2 separate regions of the Homo sapiens genome follow, and region 2 is linked to region 1. The links are contacts of gene promoters, found by promoter capture Hi-C in blood cells and fetal thymus (Javierre and others, 2016). All regions are on one chromosome and are shown on one strand. Each heading gives the region's core, a stretch centred on a gene start or on the middle of the fragment in contact. The rest is flanking DNA. Distances are from core to core; before and after follow the strand shown. Region 1 holds the start of SERINC5 (serine incorporator 5). Region 2 holds the start of XRCC4 (X-ray repair cross complementing 4).

Region 1 (2,731 bases), core at 94-2,593:
GCCTGACACAGGGAAAAAAAATCATTTCGTCTCAGTCGTCAAAAGCCTCAATTTCCTCAACTCTGAAAAGGCCAGCTTTAATGTATGCCAAGCACAGTATTAGACCTCAAAAACCAAGACAGCTCCACGTGGCCACTCTAAACAGGACAGATTATCTGCCAGTATAATCGCCGGTTACAGAAACCCACAGTTTAACCACTCCATCACTTACAGCTGGCCTCGATTGTGGAAAGGCTGAGTGTCAGCAAGAACACCCCGAACCAGGATGCTCCCTAGAGTCTGATTCGTTCGTGAAAACACTCCATTAAAACTCTGTACCGAAACGCTGATAATCCACATGTAAAGGGAGAAAAGAGCTCCACATCCAAGAGACTCACCTACTTCGTTTTTTCTAACTCTGCAGGAAGGAGTGAAACCAGCATTACAGGGCTAAGACGTACTAATTCTACACTGATGCAGTAACTGGTAGGAGACATAATGTTTTAAGACATCATAGGTTTAAATAGGCGAGAGTTAAAAAACAGGTTCGAACAAGTTTATTTGCAAAGAGAGGCAGGAAGGTTCCAGCCCTACCCAGGCAGTCGTGCTAGTACCGAGCCAGGGTTGGGTCGGGAAATTCAGGAAGCAGGGCTGAGTTTTCCCTTCGCCCAGACCTGCGCCCGGTAGTTTGGAAGTCAGGCTTCGAGACATTCTCAAAGGTACAGAGCCCACGCTCGACTACGAGATGCCAAGCGCAACCTGCCTGGGTTGTTTGACCCGAGTTTTATTCAGGGCATAGCAAAGGAGACGGTGCCTAAACCCACTTTTCTTCCTGGATTCATCCGACAAGCAGAGTGGAGAGGGCTACGGAGCTCAGCGCTATTCACCAGTGCTCGGCGCAAGAGGCGACACGCCCCTGGAGCAGTCGGGATCCTCCGCCCGAGCCCGGCACGCCCCGCTCCACGCGGAGTCCCGGAGGCCGGACGGGAAGACCCCGGGGTAGCCTCTCGGGCTTCCCCCTGCCCCTTCCCGCCCGCCCAGGGCACAGGATTTCCCGGACGGCTGAGCGCCGCGGGGCCAGCCCGAGCGACCCACCCGGGCCCTACGTTCGGCCGCGGAGCTGGGAGCGCACCCAGGCAGGTCCTCCACGCCTGGACTCCTGGCCCGGTTCTCCGATCTGACAACCCCCGCGCTGCGCCCGGCCTCGCTCACCTGGCCCGCACAGCACTGAGCTGACATCGCGGCGGCCAATGCCGAAGGCGCGCTCGCTGGCTCCCCGCGCCGCACGGGCCCTCCTGGCTGCCTCGCGCCTCGAGCGCTGGGCTCAGCCGCAGCTCACACTTGAACGAAGATCAGCCTCGGCGAAGCGCCTAGGCGCCGAGGCCTGGGTAAAAACAACTGCGGCCAAGCCCCGCCCCGCCGCCGGCCCCGCCTCGCCCGCCCCCAGCCCCGCCCCGTGCCCGCCCCTTCCCGGGCGCCCGGCGGCGGAGCAGGCTCGACCCGGGCTCGCACTTCCGCTGGCGTCAGGCGGGTGGGCTGCTGCGATCACTTCCCGGTTGGGGCGCCGAGCTCCGGAGTCGGCCGCCAGCCTTTGGGCCCCACGCTCCGGGTCTGGTGCGCGGTCTGGCCGCGCTCGGGCCCTCGCCAAATGAGAGCGCAGCGCCTCTCCGCCTTCGGATCCAGAGAAAGAGCTTGTTGCTGCCTCTAAAAGGTTGGAGCCTTAGTAAGCGGTTCCTGCCTTTCCTGCACAGACCAGACCGCCGGGTGCTGGTCTGCGCTCTGCCGCGCGCCGACTGGGACAGCCCACCCACGAGATCCTTGTTCCTGAAATCCCTTTCCTTCCCTCATCTGCCAAGAAAACTTTCAACTTTTGGGCTCTCCGCGCCTCCCAAGCTTCCTCGAATCCCTGGGCCCTTGACTGTTCTGCCCTGATGGCACTTGGTGAGAGATCCATTGAGAGCCCTTTCCGTGCCTTCCTGAATATTGATATGTTTTCCAGCCTCTCCTCCTGCGCTGGCCCAAGGACTCATTTTCCGTCCCTGCTTCCTCACTAAAAAGAGGGTGCCCAATAATTGCTTGTTCCATACAGAAGGCAGGGAGGCCGTCTCTAGGTTTTCTCCCACTCAGATCTGCTGTCCTCACAGCCACCTCCCCAAGAGGAATGAAGGTATTTCTTTTTTTTTTTTCTTTTTTTTCTCTGAGACGGAGCTTCACTCTGTCGCCCAGGCTGGAGTGCAGTGACGCGATCTCGGCTCACTGCAACCTCTGCCTCCCGAGTAGCTGGGATTACAGGCGCCTGCCACCACGCCCGGCTAATTTTTTGTATTTTTAGTAGAGACGGGGTTTCACCATCTTGGCCAGGCTGGTCTCGAACTCCTGACCTCAGGTGATCCGCCCGCCTCGGCCTCCCAAAGTGCTGGGATTACAGGCGTGAGCCACCGCGCCCTGCCGGAATGAAGATATTTCTGTTAGTGCGATTTTTGCGCCAATCCCTTTGCTCTTTCAAATAAGCATTACCGTACCCATTTTAGCGGTGAGGCAACTGAAGCCCAGAGAGGTTAAATAACTTGCCCAAAGCCTCACAGCAAAGTTGAGGAAGTAAAACTGGGCCTGGAATCCACTCGTCTGATCCCCTGGCACATGACGCAAGGCTTGACCTTAGAGGGACTCGTTTCCAGACAGAGCTCTGGCAAAGGAGTGTCTTGGGCAGCTTAGGAGTAGAAGAGGAAAGGTGAATGGAAACCAGGCCTTG
Region 2 (2,731 bases), core at 91-2,590, 2.8 Mb after region 1:
CCTCTCCAGCCGTCCGGTTGGGCTTGTCACGGCACCGCCTACCAAGACGGGCGGTTAAGACACTAGGATAGGCTCCTCTCCACCGGAAAAGGCGGGATTTAGATCACGTCCCGCAGGCCGGCGGAAGTAGCTGATACTCTCATTGGTTGCAAAACCTTGATCTGTGAAAGCGGGCGTTTTGGAAGATACCGGAAGTAGAGTCACGGAGAGGTAGGATCCGGAAGTGGGGCTGCCTCTTTAAATAACAAAAATCTGAGGTTCTGTTCTTTTTATCTTTTTGCTTTCTTTTTAAAAAAGTTCCCTGCTACTTACCCCTAGAACTCCACAATGCGAGAATCCCCCTCAATTTGTGAGCTCCCGCGACTTCCTCTTGTGGGCTTTTGGGGATGCTAGGGTTCTCGGCATTATCCTCAGGGTGCGACCTGTTCACCCCCTTTTCAGTTTCTCCGTTTGCATCTGAGGGATTCTTGGGAATGCGAAGCACTTTTGAAATGCTCTGTGTTGGTTGTGGGATTGGGAGGACGGTTGAATCCAGAGGGTAGTGTTGAGTAGGCTGTTTGAGCATTTCCCCAGCACTGGCCTGTCCTTTCAATCCCCAGATATTGGTAAACTGTGGGTTCCAACCAGGCATCGAGGCTGAAACGTACTAGGCAATTTGAGGTCAGGAAAGAACTTTCTGTGGTAACCAATGGGAAGGAACTGCCGTTTGCGGACTGCAGCGATTGATTAGGTACTTTAAAGAGATCAACTGGCAAGACAAATGACAAGGCAACTTTTAATCAGTAGTAGTATTTAGCTTTTTCTGATTTTAATTATCCCATTAGGTGAGGTTCTACTACACACACACGTTTTTCTTTCTGCATTTTATCGATGGAGAAACAGGCGCTTTGACATGTTTGAATTTGCGTAGTTCTTGGAATTCTAATAAAGTATTAGAAATGAGAGTTTTTCACTCTTTGCCCCCTTATGGCAAGCTTTTGGTTCTAAATGTGTGGTGTATTTTTTCTCAGGCAGGAGAGAGTTCTTTTCAGAATGTTTTCAATTTTTTATGGACTTAGAAGGTGGATAGAGAGAAAGAGAGAAGGTAACTCACGTGAGATTTTGGTTTATGAACTGTATTCGGCCTATGAGACCCTTTTGTATTTAGGGCAACACAATGATTAGAAGATTTGGGATTCTGCTATTTGTGTTTACATTGTTCACTAGGGCACACAAAGGTTTTGTTTTAAACTATAACTAACTTGATATTTGAGTCTGTTATATTGAATTGTCAAGAGTTGGTCAAATACACAAATTAGCAAGTATTTACTGGGTGCCTGCTTTATTCATGGATCTTCAGATTGCAGCATAGGAACAAAGATGGTCTGTTCCTTTAAGGAATTTAATAAGGTTGGGGGAGAGGGGAATAAGAAAGGTATTTAAAAGATACAGTACTCTCCACCTAAGGATAAAAAAAGTCTTTTAATGTTCTGTCTTGTAATTCCTTTATATTATACCTTTTAGGTCTTGCCATTCAAATTAAACAAACCTGGTTTAGTTATGGAAATTATGTTGTGCAATTTATCGAGCTTGGCTTTTAGGGCAGTAAATGTGTCTGTAGACATAACTGCCCTTGGTTTCATGTGAAGATTGTCTTGATCTTTGTTACATATAAAGGTAATACTTCTGTATGAAGCTCTGCTTCAGGCTACCTGTGAAAAGCATCAGAAAGCTTAACTTGTTAGAGATCACAATTGATTTGCTATATCTATATATTTTAATTAATTTTAGGCTATGACTTCTTATGTACCTGAGCTTCAAAACAGTAAAGAACGGCATTGCCAGTTTTTAAGTTATCTATAGAGAAACACATATGCCAATAAATGAGGCTGAACAAATATGTATAATGTTTATTGCATTTATGTAAAACATCAAAGTTAATCTGACGTGGTGAGTTTTTTTTGGGAGGTGGTAGTTTAGCTCCATTGTCTTACATAAACCCCCTACTTTTTGGTTTTCAGATTATATCACAATTTCTAAAATCTTTCTGGCAGCTTTGCAGTGAATCCTCATTTAAAACCATCTTGGATCCTTTCCTTACTAGAAATAAAATCTGTCTGTGTTATTCCTTTGTTCAAAAATTATTATTTATTTTTATTTTTGAGACAGGATCTTGCTCTGTTGCCCAGGGTGGAGTGCAGTGGCACAATCATGACTCACTGCAGCCTCAACCTCCAGGGCAGAAGCGATCTATCCTCCTCCCTCAGTATCCCCAGTAACCGGGACCATGGTTGCATGCCACCATACTTGGCTAATTTTATTTTATTTTTTGTAGAGACAGGGCTCACTATGTTGCCTAGGCTGGTCTCAAACTCCTGGGCTCAAGTGATCCTCCCGCCTCGGCCTCCCAAAGTGCTGGGATTACAGGTGTAGGCCACCGCACCACGTCTGGCCTGTTCAAAAAGTATTATCTCACCTGCATCTGGAAGAATATTTCCAACTTTGGTTTCATGGGTATATTAAAATCGTATGTAAAAATAGTGGATATTTGTAGTTTTCTGTGGCGCCAGTGCACAGGTGTCCTCAGTGTTATGAGGATTACATGAGTTATTACAAGTAAATCATCTAGGCAAATGTTTGGCATACAGTAAGCACTCAGAAAGTGTTGGCTATTACTGTGCATGGCTTTGTCTTTGCTAAATTAAAAGTCCCTGGAGAGGAGGAATTATAATGGAGGAATGGTTGAATTGCA

Evidence for each region. The method cuts DNA at HindIII sites, captures the fragments that hold promoters and counts their contacts. A CHiCAGO score of 5 or more calls a contact.
Region 2: a fragment that was not itself captured here is called in contact with the fragment with the promoter of SERINC5 in region 1 in 1 of 17 cell types (total B cells); the score reaches 6.4 in total B cells.

Annotation. Positions count from the first base shown.
Region 1 is chr5:80,254,705-80,257,435 of GRCh38, forward strand. SERINC5 (serine incorporator 5) reads right to left here and starts at 1,344. Exons shown (of 12, transcript NM_001174072.3): 1 at 1,192-1,344. The coding sequence starts at 1,218. RefSeq lists silencers at 827-1,106, 1,217-1,656 and enhancers at 1,510-2,443, 2,444-2,731. The HindIII fragment of the contact is 9,277 bases long and covers 1-1,870 here.
Region 2 is chr5:83,077,406-83,080,136 of GRCh38, forward strand. XRCC4 (X-ray repair cross complementing 4) reads left to right here and starts at 142. Exons shown (of 8, transcript NM_003401.5): 1 at 142-210. RefSeq lists enhancers at 1-70, 71-1,036 and a silencer at 57-146. The HindIII fragment of the contact is 737 bases long and covers 973-1,709 here.